7 separate regions of the Homo sapiens genome follow, and all the other regions are linked to region 4. The links are contacts of gene promoters, found by promoter capture Hi-C in blood cells and fetal thymus (Javierre and others, 2016). All regions are on one chromosome and are shown on one strand. The core of a region is centred on a gene start or on the middle of the fragment in contact, and the rest is flanking DNA. Distances in the headings are between cores, read along the strand shown.

The links. Contacts are between HindIII fragments. The CHiCAGO score rates a contact against its expected background, and 5 or more counts as called.
Region 1: the fragment with the promoter of HNRNPF here is called in contact with the fragment with the promoter of TMEM72-AS1 in region 4 in 1 of 17 cell types (M0 macrophages); the score reaches 10.0 in M0 macrophages.
Region 2: a contact is called between a fragment that was not itself captured here and the fragment with the promoter of TMEM72-AS1 in region 4, in 4 of 17 cell types (naive B cells, non-activated CD4 T cells, activated CD4 T cells and 1 more). The highest score is 10.4, in naive B cells.
Region 3: a contact is called between a fragment that was not itself captured here and the fragment with the promoter of TMEM72-AS1 in region 4, in 1 of 17 cell types (total B cells). The highest score is 7.7, in total B cells.
Region 5: a fragment that was not itself captured here is called in contact with the fragment with the promoter of TMEM72-AS1 in region 4 in 3 of 17 cell types (M0 macrophages, M1 macrophages and M2 macrophages); the score reaches 8.2 in M0 macrophages.
Region 6: a contact is called between a fragment that was not itself captured here and the fragment with the promoter of TMEM72-AS1 in region 4, in 1 of 17 cell types (total B cells). The highest score is 6.1, in total B cells.
Region 7: a contact is called between the fragment with the promoter of ZNF485 here and the fragment with the promoter of TMEM72-AS1 in region 4, in 2 of 17 cell types (activated CD4 T cells and non-activated CD4 T cells). The highest score is 7.7, in activated CD4 T cells.

Annotation. Positions count from the first base shown.
Region 1 is chr10:43,407,120-43,410,748 of GRCh38, reverse strand. HNRNPF (heterogeneous nuclear ribonucleoprotein F) reads left to right here and starts at 1,563. Exons shown (of 4, transcript NM_001098204.2): 1 at 1,563-1,618. RefSeq lists silencers at 1,144-1,373, 1,824-1,943, 3,224-3,593 and enhancers at 1,664-1,723, 2,454-2,793, 2,233-2,836, 2,804-2,853, 2,994-3,053. The HindIII fragment of the contact is 6,154 bases long and covers 1-3,629 here.
Region 2 is chr10:43,571,011-43,574,772 of GRCh38, reverse strand. It overlaps ZNF239 (zinc finger protein 239), which reads left to right and starts at 157. Exons shown (of 4, transcript NM_001099282.2): 1 at 157-233; 2 at 1,096-1,136. RefSeq lists a silencer at 375-434. The HindIII fragment of the contact is 940 bases long and covers 781-1,720 here.
Region 3 is chr10:43,628,399-43,631,753 of GRCh38, reverse strand. It overlaps ZNF32-AS3 (ZNF32 antisense RNA 3), which reads right to left and starts at 2,937. Exons shown (of 5, transcript NR_038867.1): 1 at 2,776-2,937. It overlaps LOC124902416 (a long non-coding RNA gene), which reads left to right and starts at 270. Exons shown (of 2, transcript XR_007062132.1): 1 at 270-436; 2 at 709-972. It also overlaps the pseudogene RPL21P88. The HindIII fragment of the contact is 5,917 bases long and covers 1-3,355 here.
Region 4 is chr10:44,958,063-44,961,932 of GRCh38, reverse strand. TMEM72-AS1 (TMEM72 antisense RNA 1) reads left to right here and starts at 2,244. Exons shown (of 8, transcript NR_033842.1): 1 at 2,244-2,341. RASSF4 (Ras association domain family member 4) reads right to left here and starts at 2,131. Exons shown (of 11, transcript NM_032023.4): 1 at 2,067-2,131. RefSeq lists a silencer at 2,161-2,380 and an enhancer at 2,158-2,452. The HindIII fragment of the contact is 10,910 bases long and covers 22-3,870 here.
Region 5 is chr10:43,129,573-43,132,936 of GRCh38, reverse strand. RET (ret proto-oncogene) reads right to left here. Exons shown (of 20, transcript NM_020975.6): 20 at 2,586-3,364. Among named protein-coding and RNA genes, the nearest start is that of CSGALNACT2-DT, 7.1 kb to the left of the region's middle. RefSeq lists enhancers at 1,402-2,002, 2,003-2,603. The HindIII fragment of the contact is 4,128 bases long and covers 1-3,364 here.
Region 6 is chr10:43,665,527-43,669,436 of GRCh38, reverse strand. All of the region lies in intron 1 of ZNF32-AS3 (ZNF32 antisense RNA 3), which reads right to left. Among named protein-coding and RNA genes, the nearest start is that of ZNF32, 19 kb to the right of the region's middle. RefSeq lists a silencer at 1,940-2,119. The HindIII fragment of the contact is 8,678 bases long and covers 1-3,910 here.
Region 7 is chr10:43,604,984-43,608,795 of GRCh38, reverse strand. It overlaps ZNF485 (zinc finger protein 485), which reads right to left and starts at 2,358. Exons shown (of 5, transcript NM_145312.4): 1 at 2,250-2,358; 2 at 1,722-1,799; 3 at 56-182. The coding sequence starts at 1,745. It also overlaps the pseudogene CAP1P2. RefSeq lists a silencer at 2,043-2,322 and an enhancer at 2,603-2,652. The HindIII fragment of the contact is 2,214 bases long and covers 632-2,845 here.

The sequences.
Region 1 (3,629 bases), core at 314-2,813, 1.6 Mb after region 4:
TTTTTCTTTTAACAAACTCCTTCCTTCATCACAATCATCCCACTCATCATCTGACACTATTTTGAGCACTCCTTTACTTTCTCTGGTGATTTAAAAAATAACGTTCAGCCAGATGCGTGGCTCAATCCAGTAATCCCAACACTCTGGGAGGCGTAGGTGGGCGGATGGCTTGAGTCCAGGAGTTCCCGACCAGCCCGGGCAACACAGCGAAACCTCGCCTCTACAAAAAATACAAAATTTAGCCGAGAGTGGTGGTGCTACTCAGGAGGTTGAGGCAGGAGGATCGCTTGAGCCCAGGAGGTCGAGGCTGCAGTGAGCCGTGATTGTACCACTGCACTCCCGCCTGAATGACAGGGCGATACTCAGTCTGGAAATAATAACAATAGTAACAATGTTCAGCTTAACCTGTGATGAGTGCCTTGACATCATCTCTTCATGAAGAAGATCCACCAAAATAAAATGGTTACAATTATTAGCCCTACAATACATCAAAAAAAAAAAGAAAAGAAAGAAAATCTGTCCCTGGCTTAGCCATTAGCCACCAAATCTGTGTGTTCAGGTGCTCTGTGACTGAAAATCTTGCCCTCGACCTGGGTCTGAGTTACATTCTGAGGTTTGGGGGCTTCTCACACCACGGAATTTATCACCTGAGCAACTTCAACCTGACAAATCCCTCCTAACGCCCTGCTCTGAGACCCCTTTAGGCGGTCTCCGGAGTACTCAGTGTACCTTTTTTTTTTTTTTTTCTTTGAGACGTAGTCTCGCTCTGTCGCTAGGCTGGAGTGCAGTGGCGCGATCTCGGCTCACGCAAGCTCCGCCTCCCGGGTTCAAGCGATTCCCCTGCCTCAGCCACCCGAGTGGCTGGGACTACAAGCGCGCGCCACCACGCCTGGCTAATTTTTTTGTATTTTAGTAGGGGTTTCACTATGTTGGCCAGGATGGTCTCGATTTCCCGACCGCCTGATCCGTCCGCCTCGGCCTCCCAAAGTGGTGGGATTACAGGCGTGAGCCACCGCGCCCGGCCTTCAGTGTACTACTTTCCTTATTTTATTTTTTGAGACAGCGCCTCGCTCTGTCGCCCAGGCTGGACGCAATGGAGCAGTCACGGATCACTGCAGCCTCGACCTCCCGGGCTCAAGCGATTCTCCCGCCTTAGCCTCCCAAATTACTGGGACCACAGGCTTGCGCCACCACGCCCTGCCATCGGCTCTCATTTCCTTTTCCCATCCTAGTCTTCCATCAGGCGTCCTTTCGGCGCACATTTCAGTGTCCTGCGGGGCTCACCAGTGTCCTTCCTCCAGGGCCTCAGGGGCAGTCAGAGGGATCTTTCCCGCCGCTCCACTCCCTCCTCCTCCTCCCCCTCCCCCTATCCCCTCCCCTCCCCTCCCTTCTCCTCTCCAGAAACGTCCTCGCTTGTCCGCCTCCACCGCCTCCCCCGCCAGCCGTGTCGGCTCTGCTCCGCGCCCAGCCGGCCAACCGGCGGCTCAGCTCTGGCGCGTCACAATGCGCCGTCGCGGCCCCGCCCCCGGACGCCGGACGCAGAAACTCCGCCCTGCCGCGGTCCTTGCGTCCTTCCGGCTCCGTCGTGGAAGCAGGACTGCGCCGCGTCTTCCTCAAGGTGGGGTTCGGGGGGCCACCGAATCGCTGTCACGCCGGCAGGTAGCAGGGGGTGGGGACGCGGGCTCCTTGGGCTTCTGTTTCCTGGTGTCCAGGGCAAAGGGCTGAGCCGGGCAGTAGGGCCTAGTCGGGGCCTGGCTCGCCGGGAGCAGGAGGGCTTCCGGCAAAGCCGCGTGCGCTCGACGGGCAGGCGCTGAGGATTGGGGCCGGCAGCGCGCCTGACCCCGCCCCTCGTAGGCTCCGCCCCGTGCTCGCAGGCGGGGGTTTCCATGGTGATGGTCAACAAGCCTCAACTGCCTCTGCTACAACTGCCAAGTTCCCCGCGTCCCACCCTCCTCTAGGTGCTCCAAGGGACCACCGGGGTGCCTGATATGAGAGCGGGAGTGTAGAGACTCGGAGGCCGAGGTGAGGGGCGGCCGAAGTCTCCGAGGTCGAAGGCCGCACACCCGGGACCTAGCGGGGACCGGGTCCCCCTGGGGGTGGGGACGGGGGGTGGGATTTGAGATTAGGGAGACTATCCGAAGTCCAGGGCCCCGTACCCGGACTACCTGGGGACTGGGCCTATTGGGGTGGGGATCGTTGGGCTGGGGCTGGGATTTGGGATCAGGGAAGAGCGATCTGAGTTTAAGCGCCGCAAACCTGGGACCGAGCGAGGACTGCACATAATGAGGGGCCGTGGCGCTGAGATTTGGGTGACGGGATTCGAGGTCGAGGGGCCCGTACGTGGGACCGGCAAGAACTGGACCCACTGGGATCGGGAGACGCAGCGTCGGAGGTCGAGAGCCGCACGCCCAGACAGTGGTCCCACGCGGTGAGCACCGCGGGCTGAGATTTTGGAGTCAGGAAAGCGCGGGGAAGGCACGGACGGCCGGGTGCGTTAGTCCGGCCCCCTGGCGGGGAGCTGGCGACTGCCGGAGGGCTCTGAAAGTGAGAACAGGCCTGGCGCAGTGGGAGGCCCAGCCGGGAGGATCTCTTGAGCCCAGGAGTTCCCGACAAGCCTGGGCAACATAGACTGTCTCTACTGAAAAGTAAAGAAAAAAAAATTAGCCACGTGTGGTGGCGCGCGCCTGTTGTCCCAGCTACTCGGGAGGCTGAGGCGGGAGGGTCGCTTGCTCTGAGGTCGAGGCTGCAGTGACAGTGATTGTGCCACTGCATTCCAGCCGGGCGACGGAAATGAGACCTTGTCTCAAAAGAAGTAATAATAGTAATAATACCTGAGTAAAATGAAAGCCGCGCGCTCACGTGGCTGCAGGCGCCTGAGAGTTGCACAAGACTTCCTTGTGGGGAGTTGGCTCCGCCCTCCTCCCACGCCCGGTTCCCGTAGCCTTAGCTCTCGGCCCCGGGCCCTTTTTCCTCCTCGGCTGCGCCGCGTGTCCTCGGAGCGCGGTCCCTGTATTGGTCTCCTGCTCCTAGAGGTATCGTGTTTGTATTTGGGGTGAAAATCTGACTCGTGCGCGCTCTTCAGCTTAGTCGTCCTTTTTTTTTTCCTTTTGTTTGTTTGTATTAAGTATTTTCGTCGATTCCGCCCTGCTCGTAGGAAACTTGTGGACGGGGCCCGGCTCCTGCTGCGCCGGCTGCCCGGCTCCCCCAACCGCAGAGTCGTGGACCAGGGTTTTGAGGAGCAAGGCACCCGACTCGCCCTCCCCCCAAGGCCGCCCCGGGCGCGGGAACCCCTCCCCCTAGGCGCCTGGGACCCCCGCTCGGCTCCGCGTGTGTCCCGGCGGAGGGTGGAAGGAGAGCCGAGCTCGGCCATTGCCCGCGGGCGGCCCGGGGACGAGCTGACGCGCCTCTTTAGTTCTCGAAACTGCTCGCGGGCGCTGGGGGCTCGGGCCGGCCATCTGCGTGGCGGGACGCGAGGCGCGCGCTGGCGGCTGCGCGCGAAGGGCAACGGGCGGCGGCGGCGGCTTCCCGGAACCGCGCGGGGCGGGCCCTGCGCCGGGGTCAGGGCCACAGCCTCAGGCGGCAGGGAGTTCTGAAAGCGTAGTTTTCAGTCGTTCCGTCCCAAAAGTCAT
Region 2 (3,762 bases), core at 1-2,500, 1.4 Mb after region 4:
ATTTGTTTGTAATAAAAAACGAGGAGGAGGACTTGAATACACGCGTCGCTGACTCAAAGATGGTCCCCTCCGCCCAAGAATCCCGCTCCGCACAGCGCAGAGTTCAGGGGCCCGCGCCGGAAGTGGGCGTGGTTCGCCCGCGGCTTGCTGGGACTTGTATTTCGGGGCCCTAGGCGCGCGAGCGGTCAGCATCCGGAATCTGGCCCCTGCAGGCGTGGGGTTCCACGTGGGAGGTGAGACTGGCCGGGCTTCCCCAGCCGCTGGCAGAGGCGTTCAGGGGTCAGGAAATGGGTGTGCCGCGGGTAAGGCGCTGGGCCGCCGAGCTGCGGAAGCCGGGAGGGCGGCGATGGTAGGGCACGCGACCAGCGGAGGCGCGGCCCGCGGCGGCACGTGTGTCCCGGCGCCGCATTTCCGAGCTGCTGCGCCCCCGGGGCCGGGCTGCGGCCACACCGAAGCCTGTGGGGCCCTGCAGCTGAGCGGCCGCGCCTCCGATGGCCCCTCCTCCCTCCTGGCCGAGCTCTGGCCTGGGCCGGCTGGGGGCTTCGTGGTTGGCCACGCCGGCCTTTTCCTCGCCTGTGACGGGCGTTATTGCAGGGGGGTTTTCGGTGGACGTTAGGCGACGGACGGGGGCTCCTGTAAGAGACTGAGGTTTCTGTCCGCAGCACTGCCTTCGCTGAAAAGAGCTTGCATCTGAGCCCCCGCACCGCAGGAACGAGCCAGGCTCCTGAGAATGAGGTCGGGGAAGGCGTCTTGGGCAACCGAAATCCATCCCGAGAAGCTTCTCCTCTTAACTAGAACTTTAGGACAGAGATCGGGAAAGTCAGAGGAAATGGGCACGGCTTCGAGCTGCCGGCGGCTGCGGAATTTACCTAGCCTCTTGGTTTTGGGGGGAAAACTTGGCTTGTTTAATCGAAAGCCCTGTGGAGAGAGATGAAGGTGGTGACAGAAAATGCTTCACCTCTCACCTGATGGAGGGAGTGTGGGTGGAAGTGACTGAAGAAGCGTCAGAGGCAGGAGCGGAGTAACTTTTTCCCCGCAGTCTTGCTGGACTTGATTTTCATGGCTTTTTCTCTTTCCCTAACTCTGCCTTTCCAGGAATCCATCCCCTCTGGGAGTAAGAAATGACCAGGGTCCGGGTGAGTTGGCGTTCCATTTCTCCTAAAATGCCATCTCCCTGAAATGTCCCTGTGCCATGTGTTGTTTTCTTTATTGTCAGGCCCCCAGTACGGTATTTTATAGCTATGGATGTAGGGACATTAAGATACTAAGGACATGTAGCTAGCAGATGATGTCACCAGGGTCTGCACAGAGAGTTTTCACTGGCCCATCCTGCCTCCAAGAATTTATTCCACTCCTCAGAGCAGTGGGCTGTGCCCTCCTGGGGAGCCTCTCAAAGCCTGCCTTTTCCTGCCAGACATTTCACTCACATTGAAAGTCATTCCAAGCTATTCCATACTCATCCCAGTGCTAAGTGGTCTCAGCAAAACAGATAGAATGATAAACCACGGTGCTTTTCTTCAAGGAGCTTACCATCTTGATGAACATATTATATTACCTGTACACAAAAAAATGCATATTAATAGTGATAATTTATTAACTATGAGTCAAAAACGAGGAAATTCGTTAAATGGCAGCACAGTGGTTACAAAATCACTCTAGAAATGCTTTTCAACTAGGCTATGCATCAGAACTCTCTGTGGTGTTTTTTAAGAACTAAGCTTCCTTCTCTCTTCCAGACCTAGTGAAAGGAGAGTTTCACTCCTTTTTTATTCTGTTGATCTTTGTACATCCAAAGGTTTATTGTGAAATATCTCTCTATACACTATAAGTGTCTCTAGGGTAGGTAAAATGAGTTATTCATCCTTTATACTCAGGTTGATTTGTTCTCTTTCACTAGCATGTCTACATATTTAACTGTTCCAGTAAATTTTAAATTACCAAGTCGTACTTTTTTAAAGAGAGTTTTCAGTTGTCCCCATAAAACCATCTGTAGGAGGTTACCTCAAAATTAACCCTTAGACTCCCAGGGTATTTGAGATGGTCAGCCCCCACTTAGAATCCCATGGTGTTTGAGATGGTCGGCCCCCTCTTTGCCCTGTCCTGGCGTTTTATGGTGGAGAGCTCTAACTCGGCTAACTCTGAGAGAGCCGAAGGAAAGTGCCTTGTCCTTTGTTTCAGAGAGCAGAAGGCCAGAAATAAACCCCGTGTTTTCTTCCTTCAGGCTGTTCTTTCTCCATTAACTAAACAGGTCATCACATCAGAAGTTGTTTGAATAAAATATCAGACTGCGTTTTAAGGGAAAAAAAATGTTTTTTAACACTACCAGCAAAGGCCATCTTTTTGCTTGGCAAATACAGCCCTCACACACATGAGCTCTTAGAAAAAATCTGTTTAGAGGACAGTAAGCTGACTTGAGGTACTGAGAGCATGGCTTCTCTGTGCCCTGAAAAGTAATTGAGGACTTCAAGGGAGATTAACCTTAGTAGAATCAATACATTTTCCTTCCTTCGCTTCTGCCTGCTCCCTAATGATTAAGTATTCACTGCCGCTGCAACTGGGGATTGCCAGTTTAGTAAATTTTGAGATTCTGGTGTGTGTTACACAACAACTTTTTTAATTTAAAGGAAGGACTTCATTCCAAGCATTGTGTGTTTTCTATGTACCACACATTGTCCTTAGGTCTGCTGAAAGGCGGGAGTCTTAGTTAACCCTGCTTTTCCTCTGTGACATTGGGTAAGTCACTTCGCCCTTATGAACTGTGGTTTTTTTCTCTGTAAACTGAGGGTCTTGGGCTTGACCATCTTTATGTTTTCTTTTAGTTGTATTATTATTCATTTAAATTGAATGTGAATTTATATTTATCTTTCAGATTCCAAGTCAATTGTGGTAGTTGCTGGGGATTTAAAGATGAGTTGAGGCCAGACATGGTGGCTCACACCTGTAATCCCAGTACTTTGGGAGACTGAGTGGGGAGGATCACCTGAGGTCAGGAGTTGAGACCAGCCTGGCCAACATAGTGAAACCTCATCTCTACTAAAAATACAAAAATTAGCTGGTCATGTTGATGCCTGTTGTAATCCCAGCTACTCGGGAGGCTGAGGCAGGAGAATCTCTTGAACCCGGGAGGTGGAGGTTGTAGTGAGCTGAGATCATGCCACTGCACTCCAGCCTGGGCAACAGAGTGAGACTCTGTTTCAAACAACAAAGATGAGTTGAGTGTAGCCCCTATCCTTCAGAATCTTCCAGCCAACTTGGGAGAGACTTAATAGCTATAGTAGAGGGATGTGAAAGATGCTATGAGATCTCAGAGGAGGAGAATTCTAACTCATCCTCATGCTTCAGAAAGAGGCTATTGTCCTGAGACTGAAAGCTCCAAAATGGATGGGAGAACTCAATAAGTTAGGGCTTACTATAGAAAGGACTGTGCTAGACTCAAGTGTAATGTGTTGAATGACTCCAGGTAATCTAGTGTGCCTCTTCCTGCTTTTCCACTTCAAAGTAAATTGTTAGATACAGCAGAGATGGGCTCTAGAAAGAAGTGGAAGGCCACATGATGGCATGTATGTAGTTCTGAGGAGGTCGACATTTGTCTGATAGAAACAGGAAACAATTGAACTTGTGACCTTCCTCTTTGGTTGGCCTTTAGAATATCAAGTCTGCTCTCCCAACTGTAAGCAGGAGCACAGCCTTGGAGTGACTCCTTAGTGCCACTGATACCTGGGAAGACTGTTGATTATTCAGTGTTTCAGTCCCACCTTTGTC
Region 3 (3,355 bases), core at 756-3,255, 1.3 Mb after region 4:
AGCGGCTGCGACTGTTCAGCACTGTGAATATGACTTCCATCAACCCCAAAGAGGCTCTGAGACCAAACACAAACTGGGCCGGCGCTTTTGCTAAAGTCCATAAACATCAACACACAATTTACTCCACTGTTCCGTAGTTTACATGTGTTGTGTTATATATGTTTGTGTATACAAAATATTAAATATATTATTAAATATAATGTTTAAAAGGTGAACTGTTAAAAGCAAGGATTACATAGTGTTTATCTTCTGGAGGGGTGCTCATAATTTTCTTTTTTTTACAATCCAGAGGTCTTCTATTTTATTTTTTTTAACACCGATTATGCCATGAATCAATCCATAGGGAAGAGGTTCCAGCAGCTCAAGCTCCTTCCCATTTGTTCTCACACAGTGCGCTTCTCTGGGCAGAGCAGACTGGCACTTCTGCTGAATCCAGGTACCTTTCTCTTTGGCTTCCTTCTTTTTCTGATCATTTTCCTTCACAAGTTTCAGGAAGCTAGCTCAGCTCTCAGAGCGCTTAAAGTGCTCAATACCCACATGAATTCTCTTGGCAAGAACTTGCCCTTAACTTGTGTGTTTACAACAATGCCGACGGCCTGCTGCGTAACACTGTAGACTCTTCCAGTTCTGCCATGATAACACTTGTGGGGCATTCCTTCTTGAACAGTGCCCACTCCTTTAATGTCTACAATATCATCTTTCTTATAGATTCACATATACGTGACCAAAGGGAACAACTCCATGCTTCCTAAAAGGCCTAGAAGACATCTACCAGGAGCCTCTCCTCTTTCCCTTTGTGTTTGTCATTTTGTCGAATTACTGGAAGACGGTGGTTCTGGCCAAAAGGGCCATAATAAACTTTTATTTTCTTGTTTCTGTGTTTTTCTATAATAAACATACATTATTTTTATAACCAAAAATGACCAACAACATACATTAATTTTCTCTTTAATAAACTTTATCTGATTTTCCCATTAAAGCTAAACATGCTCCTTACCACTTCCAAAGAAAAAGTTATACTTAAAAAAGCCAATAATCTCCCTACTCCAAAATCCCAAGTGTTACATCATTCCAAATAACATCACTCCAAAGTTACACACACACACACACACACACACACACACACCACAGTATACTGGTCGTGTGTATTTCTATATACTATTTGATATATATACTTACACAAACCATGGAATTTGAACATATTTTCTTATTTCATTCTTTTTAAACAAAAAAGGACCACTCTATACACATCGTTTGGAAGTTTAGTTTTTCTTTTTTCATTAATAAACGTATCTATCTTTACATTCTAGTAACATATTACTGCAAACTTAGCAGGTTGAAAAACACAAATACATTATCTCACAATTTTGCGTGGTTCTGAAGTTAAGGAGGGGCCAAGCTGGGAACTCTGCTCAGGGTCTCACCAGCCTGAAATCAGGTTGCCAGCCAAGCCGTGTCCATCTGGTCTTAACTAGAGAAGATCCCTCCTTAGCCCATTCAGATGGTGGCACAATGCATTTCCCGATGGCTGTAGTACTAAGGGTCCCAGCTTCTTACTATTAGCTGAAGTTTGCCCTGAGGTCCTGCAGGCCACTTAAACTTCTCTGCCACCACATGGCAGTTTGCCTCTTCAAGTCCAACAGAAGAGAATTTATCTTCCAAGTCTGCTAAGAGTCTGCTTATCTTCCAAGTCTGCTGAGAGTCTCCAGAGTCTTATATAACATAACCACCATAGGAGTGGCATCCCATCACCTCTGCCATATTCTATCAGAGGCAAGTCTCTGGTTATTCCCACAAAGGGAGAGGTTACACAAGGGCGTGACCCATTGAAGGTAACTTTAGTGTGTTACTTTTCTAAGGATTCTATAATAAAGTACAACAAACCAGGTGGCTTAAATAACAGAAATTTATTATCTGGCAGTTCTGGAGGCTAGAAGTCCAAAATCGAGGCCGTGCTCCCTCTGAAACTGTAGCGAGAGCCCCTCCTTGCCTGTCCCTAGCTCTGGTGGTTTGCTGTCAACCCTTGGCGCTCTTGGCTTGCAGCTGCAGGACTTCACTTTCCGCCTGTGCCATCACATGGCCTTCTCCCATGTGTCTGTGTCTCTACATTTCTCCACCTCTTATATGGACACCAGTCACATTGGATTAAAGGCCCACCCTATGCCACTATGATGTCATCCTAACTAATTACATCTGCAAAGATCCTATTTCCAAGCAGGACATGGTCTGAGGTACTGGCAGTTAGGACTTCAACATATCTTTTTGGAGGACAGAATTGAACCCATAACACTTGGGGTGTATCCTCCACGGTATCAAAAACATTCTTCTGCAGAAATACATATAAATCCAACCTAGTGGTTCCTGAGGACATCAGCATCACCTGGGAACTTATAGGAAATGCAAATCCTCAGGGCCTATCCCAGACCTACTGACCCCGAAACTGCGGAGATTGCGGAAAAGGGAGGGAGAGACAGCACACTGTGTTTTAACAAGCCTACAGCCCATTCTTCTTACCAGCTGCACAGTTTGACTCTCAACCCTACCAGACTCTCTAGGCAGACCCAAAACTCCCTTCAGGGCAATAAAAGAGCAGGAAGAAAATTCCAAGCAGCAGGTGGCCTGGATTACCCTACTCCTTACACAGGGGGTTGAGACAGTGCATGTCTGTCCTCCTTTTCCACGCCAAGTTCCTCATTGCTAGGGCTTCCATTCAAGAATCAATGCCACAGAAAACTAGAAAAGTCAACAAGGATGAATAAATACATGATTTCTTACCTAATTTTGATGTCAAGTCACAGGAAGGAGTACAGACAAGTCAACCATGCCAAAAAGGCCCCACACATGCAAACTCAAAGGAACATCTTCATCTTCCCTTTTATCATGGGCACAGGTCTCTCCCAAAGTCCCTTCCACACCATCCACCAAGTCCAGTTCACCAGATCACCTGTAGCCCTGCCCTGATTTTGTTTACTTTACTTGCATTTGGGGTCATTATGATGTCGTTGCCATAGGGTCAGGGACTTAGTGACAACAGAATGTACAATCCAGCCATGACCAAGACTTGTGTTTCTGCAGTGCTGAATCTCACCTTACTCTTAGAGAGCCTCATTCCTTTGATTAAAGAATGCAAATCACTCTACAATTCTGCTTGTTTTCTAATTTCTATCTCTTCCCAGTAATTCTGGCCAGCCTGCCTAGTTTTTCTTGATTTTACTGATTATACTCCTTTTATGTTTTCAGGCCACTAACCTCCCTAGCTTTGCCATAGTCCGAGATGGCGACTGTAATCAATACATCTCATTCAACACAAGCTACAGATGTGATGGAAAAACTTGTTTTACTATTACCGTAACCT
Region 4 (3,870 bases), core at 995-3,494:
AATAAGAAAACTGTTGAAGCTTTAGGAAGTGCAGCCACTTCTTATTTGATTTTCTTTATTTTAAAACAATTTCCCCAAACATACTCTGTGAGAGAATAACCACCTAGCCTTTGCAAGGCTCTGGGTTTAAAGCTCTGCTCTGTGACTGCCTGGCTCTGTTACCTTAAGCAAGTCCAGTTCCCTCTCTGAACCTTGGGCTCCTCATCAATTAAATAACTATAATCCTCGATGACTTCTGTGAAGACGAATGAGGAGACCTGTAAGATGGGCCTTGTGTTGGGCTCACCCATAATGAAAAGAGGCTCCCATTACTATTCTTATTGACACTGGGAGTTGGGGGCTCTGGAGAGACTGTGGAGCCCCAGAGATGGGAATGTGAGGCCTGCCTGCAGGAGTGGCCATGAATGAGGAGAGAGTCTGAGCTGACACCTGAAACCAGGCCCCAGACCCCAGGGGCCCAGGGCAGAGGGCTTTCTGGCAGATCCCCTAGTTAGGTCTCCCCTTTGAGGCTTTGCACGTCCAGAATCTGAACTCTGACACACACCCAAGTTTCGTTCATGTTCTTTGTTATCTGTCATGGTCCACTTGGTCCTGACCCAGGGCGACCCTGGACCTTGATTCTGTTCTCGACCTCCAGGCTACCCACTGGAGCTTCATGGTGGAAATACAACCCAATCTCCTGAGTTTCAGACAGACACTTTAATCTGTAGCATCAACCTTTTTGTTGTCAAATCACCAGCACTACACACTGAGAGAATTATGGCTAGAACTAATGACAACAGCCTTCACATACACTGACAAAGTGCTGAAACAGCCCATGACAATTTCCGGCCAGCATTTTTTTAACCTAAGTTTAATGAGTTTCATCTCTCCTCTTCCCTCCCTTCCTCTTTCTCCTCTGACCCTCTCCCTTCCTGTCTTCTCCCCTAACCTGCTGTCCTGGCAGAAGTAGCTAAGGAACCACACAGAGGAACAGAAGGCAGGATGGTCTACATTTACCTGTTACTTCACCAATTCACTTCTAACTTAAAAAAAAATGGTTTCTGGCAACAAATCCTGATTGACACCTTAGTACTGTGGGCAGTTAAACTACAGCAAAGCCAGCGAGGGGCTCCTCTGTGAGTGCAAAGCATAGCTTTGGAGTCTAACCTGCTTGGGTTCAAATTCCAGAAGCCCAGCCCTTATTTGCTGTGCGACCTTATTTAATTCCTATGTGAAATGGGGCTCCTGAAGCTGTCCTTACTGTGTTTTAAGAAAGTGCTGGCCCTGGCCTGGGCACTGATTCTGGTGTGAGAGGAGGCCTCCCTCCCTCCGCCGTGCCAGGTTAATGAAAACACTGAGGCATGTTTTGGAAGTGGGAAGTGCAGGATGGGACCGGAGTCAGGAGCCCAGAAGAGCAGGGCAGCAGGCAGGCTGACCTTCGGAGACTAAGGGTGAAGAGCAAGAGACTCAGGGGCACAACAAGCCCTGGGTTCAAATCCTGGCTCCATCACCAACTCATCCGGTAAAGGTGGACAATTTTATAACTCTTTAAGCCTCAGTTTTCACATCTGAAAAGGGGATAACGAAAGTAGGACTCTCACTTGCTGTGAGGAGTAAGAGGCATATCGTGTTAAAGCACTTGGCCCAGAGCAAGGCGAGCCCTCTACAGACAGCGATTGTGAGACAGACCCCCCCTGCTGCTATTATCTTGGCGTTCGATTTCCATCAGTGAAATCAGAGTTGTGCCAGAGGCCTCTAGGCTCTCTCCCCAACTCTAGGATCAGTGCTTCTAGGAAACTGGTTAAGGACAAGGTGAACAAAAAAGGTGTAGCCAGTGGCCGGGCTCATCTGTCTTGCTCAGGTTGTAGCCCCTAAATTGCTTAACAGAGGTGCCAGGCGCAGTGCCCCCTCTCAGCAATGAGCCCGAGGCCCGCAATGCGCCAGGCTGGCGGGGGAGGGACCCTGCGCGCTGCGGCCGAAGGGCACAAGTGCCCAGGCTTCAGCGTCCCTGCCTGGTGGCAGTCCTGGGTCGGAGGGGATGCTCCATGGACGCCCAAGCACTCTCCTGCTCGTTCATCACTCACCGTCCAGTCATCGCGCAGTCCAGAAGCCACTGCATGTGTCGTGTCCTCGCTTGCACCGGAGCTGCGCCCGCAGCGCCTGCTGACCCCAGGCTTCAGCTGCTCGGGGCCAGGCCCGCCCCTCGCCCCGCCCCTCGCCCCTCGCCCCGCCCCGCTCCCCGCCTCTCGCCCGGCACGGCCAAAGGTGCCGCCCCGGTCTCTCCGTCCCGCCCCGAGCACGCCCCTCACTCCGCACCGGCCAATGGCACCGCCCCGTCCGCCCCGCTCTGGGAACGCCGGTAGGTTCCGGGTGCAGGGCGGTGGCCTAGGGGCGGCGGGGAAGATTTGGGGCCTGCGACCTGCCAGGTGTCCCCAGGCCATTGTTCAGCTCGCCGCGCGCTCCCGAGTTCCCGAGGGCGCCCCGGGACGCGAGGAGAAAGCAGCCCGACTCAGCCCCGAGAGGTTCGGTGTGCGGGCAGCGGCCAGGGACTTTGCGGGGTAGCGCGGACTCCTGGACTTCCAACAAGGGCCGCTGCGCAGGCGCTGCAATCACTGCAGGCACTTGTCTGCATGCCTGGTGGGGCTTGGAGTCTGGGGAGGCTTATCAGTAAAGCCCAGAGCATTTGCTATTTATTGCTCAAGGGGCACCTTTGTACAGTCTGGCCGTTTGCTTGGCATGGCCTCTTAGAACTCCTTATTGTTTAAGAAATCCGATCTGGTGAATAAGAAGTTAGTCTTTCTCTCCCAGTCACTGCCTCCTGGACGAATATTTGCCAGCACGGAGGCAGAGAGGACAGAAAACCACAAGCCATTTGGGGAACTGGGAACAGTTCAGTGTTTCTGGGGTGTGGGGGTGTCAAGGTGGGGGATGGGGTTGATGGAAAACATTTGCAATTTCTGCTTTACCTCACGATTCCCAGCTCTGACCTCTGGACCTGTTCTCTCCCACCCCTAACATAAATCATTTTAGTTTCATTCAGTGTGCGTTTCCTAATATTTTTAGGGTCTCATGGCCATTTTAGAATCTGATATGGATCTTCTAGAAAGTGCAGGTGGCCATATGCACCAAAATCAGCCTGGGATTTGAGTCTCATGGGTCCCTGAACTTCGACTTAGAGGGGCTGTGCTAATGCTTGTATGGCTGCTGTATGACTTATGTTGGAACCCCCACCTGCAAAAAGTGACAGGACTGAAGATACCCAGTCCAGGGGCCCTCCCGTTTCTGCGTTTGCTTGAATTTTTGGAGAATGGCCCATCCTTTGACAGCTCTGAGGCTCCCTGTGGTTGGTGACTTGTCATGACACATTTGCTCTTCCACAGCCCTCATCAAAGCTGAGACAAATAATCGGGTGCTTCCAAAGGTTTTTTAAAAGTGGGTAAAATTCAATATAACTGTCAACCTCTGAGCATGAGATCCTAAGAATTTAATCACTCCTGATAGGAGAAGTAAACATAGCACCAGGGTGACATAACAGTTTCCCTGGGCTCTCCAGAACTCGAGTGTGAATCATTCTCTCTGACCTAATTAATGCTGTTCACAGGGCCATGACTGGCTCTGAGTGAGGACTGGGTTTGGGACAGCAACCCCATGTGTCCTGTGCACCCATTGTGGGCTCAGACACTATGCTAGTGCTTTACATTGGGGATCCCATGCAATTCCCCCAGCACTCCTGGGCAGTTGGTGTTACTGCTTGCATTTTTTAAAATTTCCATTTTTATTTTAAATTTAGGGGATACACGTGCGGGTTTGTTACAATTGTACATTGTGTGGTACTGAGGTTTGGGATTGATCCTGTCACCCAGATGGTGAGCATAGTACCCAATAGGA
Region 5 (3,364 bases), core at 145-2,644, 1.8 Mb after region 4:
GCCTGGCTCCCTGCAGTCCTCTGACCAAAGTCTCTTGCCCCTGGAGACCCCTTCTTCCATGGGAGAGTATAGAAAAGGATTGATGTGCAGGTGAGACAATCGAGCAGCCAAGAAACAGGTTGCTCTTCTGTTAATACATTGAGAAAAATACACAAAAACTTGAATGTTTTAAATGAATTTCATATTTTTATTCAAGAAATTGACAGTCTGCATGGTAAATATTGTCTGTGTATGAAATATCAAACTTGTTTCCTTCTCAGAAAATGAAAAATGATTTTTTTTAGCTTTAGAATTCACTTACCTTGCTTACCAGCACATTTTTAGCTTGAACTGCTCAGTGTCATCTGAGAGGATGCAGGTCTATGATCTCTCCCAGTGTGGTAGTCACAGTGGCTGGGGTAGTTTCAGACCGCAAGCTCCCTCCATGATGACCTTCACATTTCTGCAGCCCCCACAGTGAGATGTGCCCCCATAAAGGATCCCCTGCCCGGGGTCCAGCTGAGAGATCTTGCTTGGCCAGGTCCTGTGATTTAACACCTCAGAGACATCTGCAAAAATACCTGGTCACTTGACACAGCACTCAAATTTGTAGTTGCAAAGATAAACTGTGATTTCTCCAGGGTGTTCAGAGTGTTTGCCTCCTTAACTCCTGGGAGCAGCCTGCCCTTGCAGCCCTCAGACGGCCACTACCTGGCCTCAGCAGCAGGACACAGTAGTGGCCCCACGCTGAAAAGTTCTCTACATGCAGGTTCTTATGACCTCAGCTAAGATGATCCTTCCTGAGTCCCAGCTCCCTGAAGAGGTGGGAGACTCTACACAGTTTCGGTCAAGGCTGCTGCCATGGAGAAGGGACAGGGCCACAGCAGGAGCCCTGGCAGAGAGGGTGCTTTCCCTGCAGGCGCACAAGCCTAGGACTTGCACCTGGAGCATCTTCATGTGGAAGACGTGTGGGGCCACGCACACTGCTGCATGCACCCTGAAGACCCACCTTTCTGCTTTTTCAGGGCCACAGAGGTTAGGATTCCCTAGGACTTCCTAGAACCACCCCCCAGTTGTGAGGACCACTAAACACAGGCGAACCTCAGAGATACTGTTCCAGACCACTCCGGTAAAGCAAAGAAGATTGAAGATCCCAAATAAGTGAGCCACACAAGTCTCTTGGTTTCCCAGTGCATATAAAAGTTACACTTTACACTGTACTGGAGTCTGTTAAGTGTGTGACAGAACTATGTCTAAAAAACAATGTACATACCTTGGTTTAAAGATTCTTTACTGCTTAACAGTACTGATAGAGAGACATGAAGTGAGTGTGGGCTGTTGGAAGAATGGCCCTGATAGACTTTCTCGACGACTCAGCGTTGCCACAAAACTTCAATTTGTGAAAAACGCAATAAAGCAAAGAGCAATAAAACAAGGTGTGCCAGACACTATGCGTGAACGCACCCGAGGCAGAGAGAGGCACCGCTAACTGCTCCACCTGCCTGCGGGAGAGGCTTTCTTTATATGTTAGAAATTATGCTTTCCCTTCAAAATTTCTTTTGTGTATGAAGTATTTGTTCAAGCCCTGTTCTCAGGCACATTCAACTAGATTTCTGCCCACATAAGCTGGCCTCGTGGTGGGAAGAAATCCTTCGTGAAGGTTGGCAGAAAATGTGTTTTTAGGGGAAAATAAAACAGCAAACATACACACACAAATAGTCCTAATGTAGAGTCTACATTAGGGGTGGCTTTTAGCATTAACTTTTCTTGGCGTAGATTTCTACTTTCAGAGGTAAAGGCTACAGCAAACAGCTGGCTCTGGAGATTACGTTCACTTCCAGCCCGTGGTCCAGGCTGAAGGAGGAAGCCGTGAGCAGACACAGACACCCACGGCTGGGAAGCGGGGCCTCATGGGCCTGGGGCGGGCACTGGGCGAGGCGTGCCAAGGCCTGCATGTACACCACCTGGCGAGGCGTGCAAAGGCCCACGTATACACACGTGTATGTGTGTGACACAGGCCGTTGGCATCTGACACAATGCAATCGCAGATGAGACTGATGTTGACAACAACTCCCGTTTGCCCACTGACCCATCAGCTCCACGCCCGGCATGAGAAGCTCAGAGAATTCCTCGGGGAAGACATAAACAGAAGTAGTGAGTATGTCAGGCTTCATGGTGGTTCAGGACAGCATTTTCCCTCACACTTCTAATGGCCTTCCTCAGGACTTGGCATTTTGTATTCTGTCTCCCACAGCTCTAAGGCCAACTTCAAAAGATCAGCAACAAGCAAATTGCTAGAGAACTGTGAAGACCTAAACTTGACACTGGCTGCTGCTTTGTTCTAGGGATGGACACTTTTAAGGAAGGGATTCCTTGAACAGTGGAGTTAGCTGAGTTTTTCAGTTTCTATCAATGTGCCTATTCACACGCAAATGTACCAGATAAGCCAGCGATATCTCCAGAGCCCCTAGTCCTCGACCACTATTGATGCCTCAGTGGTTATCATGATAGAATTCTTTGTGATGTTTTAAATATTGTATGGAAACTACAAAATCAGAAATCTGTTGTTTCCAACTAGAATGTTAAAAAGAAAAAAAGTTTACACATTTTATGATACATGATTTTATTTACACAACTGATTTTCTTAGTCACCTTGATTACAAAAAAAGGAACATGATCTGGTTTAATGACCTTTCATAAATAGATTTTACAAATTTTAATAACTGACAGATTACTACTTAATACTCAGTAATACTTAATACTTAGTAACTTCTGCATTTACGTGTATGAAAATTCCAGTAGAGCTAATAAGGATGGGGACTTTTATAACTCAGGAATAGACAATTAGGTTATTGGTCAAGGATAAATTGGTCAAGGATAAATTCCCCATCACTGGGTCAGCTGTTTAGACCTGGAGTTCTTACCCTCCTGAGAACAAACCTGTTGCAGCAATTCACACTTACTGTGTAGGCATTTTTAATAATTTGAGAAAGTTTATTCTTATTTCTGCATTTAGTAAGACTATCATTAAGCATATCTGAAAACCAAAAGTTTACCATGTCTATAGATATTTGTAAAAGAACTTATCACAGTGTATCTGAAAAACAGCCCAAATTAGAGCCAGGTTACGTGTCCAATAAGCATTTTTCAAACTCTCCCTCTGGGTGTGTGCGCACACACCACAAGGCTCTATTACACACGCATCCAAGCCTTGGCCTCACAAAATGCCACAATTTTGCTGTTTTTGTGAAATGCCTATATAAAATACAGTATTTGAATGAGACTATTTTAAGTCCTATCAGTGCTTTAAGTCTGAAGAGCAGGCAGTGTTTTGGTAATCCGACTCTTTTCTGCGAAGTTACAGTGCTGACAACACAGCCAGAAG
Region 6 (3,910 bases), core at 1,207-3,706, 1.3 Mb after region 4:
CAGAGGTGTGACCTGCCCACTAGCACTAGTCAGGGTCAAGCCGTGCCTTGGCCCCCACCCTTCACTCTTGGGAGAAAGCTCTCAATTTGTTCAGTACCTACACATAAGGGGCTGTCTTTACGGGTTTGCCCAGACATCCCAGGCCCTCCCGAGTCCATGCCCTTCCCTAAGAGTCTCCACTTCCCAGGATGGTGACAATAAAGGCCCATTCCCCTCAGGAGAAGCCCCCTCTGCTCAAGATGTGGCCTTGGAGATGTGCTCCGACCATGCCCAGAGCCACACAGACCCAAGTGCAGCCAGGACCACCCACACTGGCCTGCCCCTGCCCTCTGATGGCTCCTTCTGGCCCAAGGACCATCCCCTCCTCATTGAAACCCTGACTCGGGGATGCTCTGGGGAAAGGGGAGGTCACTGTGGAACCAGAAAATAAAGATACAACCCTAGCTTCTCATCTAGAGAGTGCCATCCAGCTGTGAGACCAAAGATTGGAAAGGCAATGAAGTAGAGCGACCCCGGAGCTGGTGTAGTCCTCACCCGCAGTGCGTGCAGACACATGGCACTGCAAGCTACAGGCACGGCTTCTCTATATCTAGAATTGTGTATGTGTGTCCATGTGTGTCTGTGTCTCTCTGTGTACATCCACGTATGTGTGTCTGGGTCTGTGTGTGTGTCTGTGTGTCTCTGTGTGCATCCATGCGTGTCCGTGTCTGCGTGTCTGTGTGTGTGTGTCTCTGCATATCTGTGTGTGTCTATGTGTGTCTGTGCCCTCCAGGCCGGGTAGGGGCAGGAAGAGTTGGGAGAGGAAGCCTGATACAGGCCCAGGCCCCAGGCCCTGCTCACTCCCCTCAGCTCCTTGGGCTGAGTGCAGTGGGCTTGAGGGTGGATGTGCAGTGGCCTCCTTCCCGAAGTCTGAGGCCTTGGTCTAGGGCTGAGGTTGAAGGACAGCCTGGATGGCACAATACCAAGGCTCTTGGAGAGGCTGTGTCACCCGCCTCAGGGGTGCAGGTGGTTTGGGCACATTTGGCACCCACAGCAGCCCCATCTTCCCTGAAAGGCTGAGGAGGGAGGGCAGCCAGAAGTTCCATGGGGACCCCGGTGGACTTGAAAGCTGGACAACCCAGGCGAATCTGATCGCTGGAGTCGGAGGTGCGGAGGCTGCAGTGAGCCGTGATCGCTCCACTGCACTCCAGCCTGGTCGACAGAGCAGAACCTTGTCTCTAAAACAATTAATTAACATGACTGAGAAGTGACTAACTTGGCAGAATTCACCAAGAAGGGGTCGACTGCTCTCTATCAAGCATGAAATAGGGGCTAGACTAGAATTACAGAACATAATGGGAGTTAGGTTTTTTTCGTGGGCGTCCTACTGGGAACTCTGCACCCACGGCCAGGCCTCCTGCCGCGTGCGAGTCTTCTGACAACCCCCTGCGCAAGCGGGGCCCCTCCGGCCGCCCCGGGACGTGCGTGTTCCTCCCGCTCGCGGCCCACCCCACTCGCGGGGCGTCCTCCCGCCAGCGGGACCTGCCGTAGGAGGGGAAGGGAAGGGAAGGGAAGAAGGCCGAGTCGCCTCCCCTTAGGTGTAATCTGTGCTGCTGACTTCAGAAGGATGTCTTCGGGTTGGAAGATTTAACTGGGAGCGAAAGTCAGTAAACAGCCCACGAAACAAAGGCCAAAGCTCTCCAGGCCCTTCCAAAGGTTTTTCGTATGATGAAGCCCCGCAGTGGGGAGGGCCCCGGAGCGCACCCGCCGCGCCCCTGCTGGGAGCTTCCCACTCTCCGCGGAGGCTGGGGGCAGTCCCGGCCAGCGTTTCCATCAGCGAAAAACACCCACTAGGCCACGTCTAAGTCGCGCTTGGAAATCGCTAAGTGCGGGACCCTGGCTCGGGCCAGTGGACACCCGGACTCCCCGCGCGCACAGCAGCCCGGCCGAGCCTGGGCGCCAAGCCTGGGCCGGGCTCCACATGGCTCCCCTTGGCCCCAGGGAACTGTCGCCCCTGGGTTCCGCCGCGGCTGTCCTCTCGGCCCTCTGCTGGCGCATCAGCACAGTGGTTTTCCGAGGCAGGGGTTGGGTCCAGCCTGTGCTGCTTCTGAGCCGCAGGAAGTCGCTGAGACCAGCGTAAGGAGGAAACCCCAAAACCTCTAACTGGACAGGAGAACTCCTGAGGAACCTTCCGAGAGGAGGGGCCGCAGCTGAAGCCGGCAGGCAGAGACGGAGAGAAATTTGACGTCGTCATAATCAGCACCAATACATATATACATAAATACTTGGAAAACCACCCAATGTTAAATTTCAAATTAGAAACGTCCTAAATGTCCAACAGCAGGGGAATGGCTAAGTAAAGTATAATACCTAGCTAGAACAGATGGTACCAGCCAGTCTAAAAGGAGGGTTCAGAGTTTGCTGTAATTTTGGAAATTGTAATTAATACCCATTTAACTGAGGAGATAATTTTTATTAACTAACATGATCTCATTTATAGCTTTAAAATGTGCCTAAAAATAGCAATTGTCATGGTGATTTTATTTGTTTGATAGAATGGGTGACAATTCATATATGAATGAACAAGTTACCCCAAGAAGACAAACAGGTTAGAGTAACCTTGTGCAAAAAAAAAAAAAAAACTCCATCTGCTTCCGAAGGAGGCGTGAGGTTGCCTGTGTGGTGCCTGCCTTCTTGAACGTGGTGCAGAAGAGCTGGGGCTCTGCCCGGCAGTGCCCACTTCCTCTGTAACAGGCAGGATGATGTCTGCTGAGGAAAGAGCTGTGGCCTGAGGAGGGGACAGCGGATTCGTGAAAGTAGAGCCCAGGGAGTGAAGGAGGGATGGGATGGGGGATGGTTAGGGGACAGGGAGTCCAGAATCAGAAGCGTGAACCCCGGGGCCCGGGCCACTTGGGCTGGTGATGCAGCCTCCCAGCTTGGCAGCAGGAGGTGAGCCCTTGACTATGGCCCCCATGAGGTCCCCTTCTCTCAGGAGGGTAGTAATGGTCCCTGCTGCTGTGATTTGAATACTCCTCCCTTCAAAACTCATGTTGAAACCTAATCCTCAATATGGCAGTATTGAGAGGTGGGGCCTTTAAGAGGTGACTGGGTGATGAAGGTTCTGCCCTCTTGAATAGGTTAGTCCATTCCTGGATTAATGGATTGATGAAGGGGTTGATGGATTAATGTGTTATGCAGTAGGACTGTTGGCTTATAAAAAGGGAAAAGAGACTTGAGATGGCACGCTCAGCCCCCTGCCATATGATGCCCTGAACCACCTCTGGGCTCTGCAGAGTCCCCACCAGCAAAAAAAAATGCTCACCAGATGCACCCACTCAACCTTGGACTTCCCAGCCCCCAGAACTGTGAGAAATACATTTCTTTTCTTTATAAATTACCCAGTTTCAGGTATTCTGTTATAAGCAACAGAAAACAGACTAAGACCCCTGCTTCCTAGAGCTGTAGAGAGGGGCCCACACCAGCATCCACAGAGCACTAGGAAGAGGGCCTCCATGGCATAGGCACCCAGGAAATAAGTGTCCGCTGAACCTGTGGATTCACAGGTGCCTCTGATGGACTTCGGGATGGGCTGGTGGTGCCGTTAAAGACCAGTGGCTGCCTCTGCTGTGTTCGTGTTGTCCACATCACTGCTGGGATGACAAACCTGCAGAGGCTCCATCTGCACACAGTTTTGATGAAGCTGGAAATTCTCCCTCTCTCCTTGCACCTCTTTCTCAGACTTTCTTCAGGGATTTTTATGGTTTTCTAAATTATTTTTGCATAAACACTATTTTAACAGCAAAGAATAAAAATTTTTAAGTGCAAACATTCACACTTCATCTCACTGCTCTCAAATTATCTTTTACATTTTCATATTTATCTCCTATCCCTTCTCATATTCAGACATAATTTGACATAGTGCTAATTATAG
Region 7 (3,812 bases), core at 1,109-3,608, 1.4 Mb after region 4:
AAACACAAAGTTGCCCAGCAGACCAATCCTGAGTCAAGGAGAAAGCCATCCTCACCCACAGACACCAGATTCCCATAGTTCTCCAGCATCACATCCCTGTACAGGGCCCGCTGAGCAGCATCCAGGTGTCTCCACTCAATCCGGGTAAAGGCCACAGCCACATCCCCAAATGTCAGCGGTCCCTGCAAAACCAAACCCAATTCTGCTCATCCGGGAACCCCTGAGGGAGGCATCCCAAGAGAAGGAAGCAAGGTGGTCAAAGCCAGCTTCTGACAGTTCCAACAGTGCTCATGGAAACCAACAAGTAAAAGCTGAGGGCTCAGGGGATGTGCGACTCCTCCCTTGAGCAGGTTCTTCCTGCATGCCTGTCCTGCTCCCTCCTCCAGGCCTAGCCTCTGCTCACTCCACCCTTCATGTCACCTCATCAAAAAGGTCTTCTATTTCTCCACCCCATCCTCTGCCACTCAGTCTCGAAACCCATTTCACTTTTCTTCACAGGATTTCTCACCACCTGGCAGGAGAGGTTTGCACTGACTGTCAGCATCCTCTCTAATGTGAGCTCCAGGGGGACAGTGTGGGTCACTGCTGCCTCCCAGTCAAAAACACTGCCTGACACAGAAGTGTTCAAGCTTTATTCAATCAACAAATGAATAGAAACTTTGAAAAGACATGGAAAGTGATTAGCTTTATCCGAGAATTTACAGGGAGTATGATCTGACTCTGGGGCAGAATATTTTTAAAAAAGAAAAAAAAATTGCTTTTCATAAGAGTAACAACTTACTATGTACCAGCCACGGTGCTAAACCCTGAGATACATATCATCTCTCTAAATTTCTGCCGTAACTATATAAAGTAAAATCTATTTCGTAGCTAAAGACACAAAGGTTCAGAGAGTTGGAAGAACTTGCTCAAGGTCCCAGGGCTGGTTGAAGGCACAGTATAAAAGGAAGCCACAAAAAGTGGTAATGAAACTAGAACAAATTGGAATGGCTATGAAATACTAAAAGAAAAAATGAGTAAGCCTTAAAAAAATGAAAAGTGTGTTTCAAATGAAATTACTTGACTTAGAGCAGTAGAAATGTAGGTGATCTTTAATTTTTTTAATTTTATTTGTATAATAGACACTCAAATGTTTATCACTTCCTTTCAAAATACCAATTATTTAATCAGCTTCTCAAAATCCTTCAAAACCTAGTTTTCTCCAGGATAAAAGCAAACTCCAGTCTGGGATTCTAGACCATGAATGTTTCCAACTTTCTCAGACCAGTTTGTTCATGGTCCCGCCATAATGACTTCATTCAGGCAGCGCTTTCCCCTAGTATCCTCTGCAATTATGCAAATCTCATTTATTCTTCAGGAAGAACTAAGGCGCCCACTACTCCACCCCTCCCACCCTACCACACACTAAAGGTCAAGAGAGCACTGCTATCACCCTATGTCTTTATGGCCTACGTCTTTACATGCTAACGTGTATTTTTTTCATCGTCTGCCAGTTTGCAAAGCACTTTTCTGTTTCTAGCACTCTAGAAAACATGGGTAGCAATAATCTACTTGGTGAATGACTACGTAATGGGTAGACAGGACGGAAATCGCGGGACCCATCCAGGATTGGTTCGGGTAGCTTTGTCCACACACAGGGCAGGGCATTGTCCGGGCAAGAGGCATAAACCCCACCTCGCTGAAACACGTGGTTTCTCAAGAAATGGAAAAATCAAACTTGCCTGGATCTGGGCTCTTGGGGCCATCTGTCTCCTGAACTGTTCTCCCAGGCAAGGGCTGAGAATCCTGCGTAAGTCAATCTGGGAAAGAAGAGAGGAAATTGAGGAAGTCCCTCCGTGCCCTAGCCTAGCTAGAATCTGCCCTCTAGACCAGGTCCCCGCCCGCCCGTTCCCTCCACAGGTGGGCAGACAGGTCCAGGTGGGTACGCTCGGGAAGAAAGGAAAGGGAACGGCTGCTGGGATCCGGCCTGGACTGCAGCCAGCTCCACGCCAAACACTTTTGGCAGCACCGGGGGACGGCCTTGTCAGTGGCCCAATCTGTCGGCCGGGGCGCAAGGCTGGAGCGCTCTGTGATGCACCAGCCTCGAGCGGTCGCTCCACACGGCGCAGCCACTGCGGGTGGGCACTGCCCACCGCCGCCTTCCCCTCCCACCCCGGCTCGCCCCTCGACCCGCCCCTGGGAAAGGCGGGGAGCACCCGCCAGGGGCTCGAGGCTTCAGGGACCCAGCCTGACCCCGGCCGCTCACGAACCGAACCGAGCCGGCAGGGCTGCGGAGCTGCACGCCCAGAGAGTCAGCGACCACACCACGCCGTTCGGACAGTAACCACCAGCCAGGGGCTGGTGCAGCGCTCGCACCACGCGGAGACAGGCTGGACCGGAAGCGGAAGTGGCTGAGGCCGCGGAGGCCTCTGGGAAACGTAGTCTGGGCCGCTTGGGGTCTTAGGGGCTCCATCCGCAGAGCAGGTTGGCATCACCTGGGAATCTTTGAAAAGTGAAGGTGCGGGAAGTGGAGAGCGGCTGATCGCAGTCGGGAGGTGATACATTATGACTGACATGCAAAATCTGGTAAAAAATTGGACAGGGCAGTGGGCCGCCTGGAGGCAGTATCCCATACCTCTGACATGCACCGTGGATATGGAGATAGTCCTTCAAAAGCAGGAGCAGCTCCATATGCGCAGGCATTTGACTCGCTGCTTGCCTGCCCTGTGGCAGAGTACTTGAAGATCAGTAAAGAGATTGGGGAAGACGTGCAGAAAGATGTGGAGATGGTACACACAGTTTTGAAGTTGGAGTGAGCTCTCTTGGTTACAGCTTCTCAGTGTCAATAGCCGGCAGGTAATAAGCTTTCCGATCTGTTGGCACCTATCTCAGAGCAGATCAAAGAAGTGATAACCTTTTGGGAGAAGAACCGAGGCAGCAAGTTGTTTAATCAGCTGTCAGCTGTCAGTGAAAGTATCCAGGCCCTAGGCTGGGTGGCTATGGCTCCCAATCCTGGCCCTTATGTGAAAGAAATGAATCATGCTGCTGTGTTTTATACAAACTGAGTCCTTAAAGAGTACAAAGATGTGGATAAGAAGCATGTAGACTGAGTCAAAGCTTATTTAAGTATATGCACAGAGCTGCAGGCTTACATTAAGGAGTTCCATACCACCGGACTGCCTGGAGCAAAACGGGGCCTGTGACAAAAGAACTGAGTGGACTGCCATCTGGACCCTCTGCTGGATCAGCTACTCCTCCCCCACCACCAGGCCCCCCTCCTCCACTAGTCTCTGTCAGTTCAGGCTCAGATGAGTCCGCTTCCCTCTCAGCACTGTTTGCGCAGATTAATCAGGGGGAGAGCATCACACATGCCCTGAAACGTGTATCTGATGACATGAAGACTCACAAGAACCCTACCCTGAAGGCTCAGAGTGGTCCAGTACGCAGTGGCCCCAAGCCATTCTCTGCACCTAAACCCCAAACCAGCCACAAAGAAGGAGCCAGCTGTACTTGAACTGGAGGGCAAGAAGTGGAGAGTGGAAAATCAGGAAAATGTTTCCAATCTGGTGATTGATGACACAGAGCTGAAACAGGCGGCTTACATATACAAGTGTGTCAACACGATGTTGCAAATCAAGGGCAAAATTAACTCCATTACAGTAGATAATTGTAAGAAACTTGGTCTGGTATTCGATGATATGGTGGGCATTGTGGAGATAATCAACAGTAGGGATGTCAAAGTTCAGGTGATGAGTAAAGTGCCAACCATTTCCATCAACAAAACAGATGGCTGCCATGCTTACCTGAGCAAGAATTCCCTGGATTGTGAAATA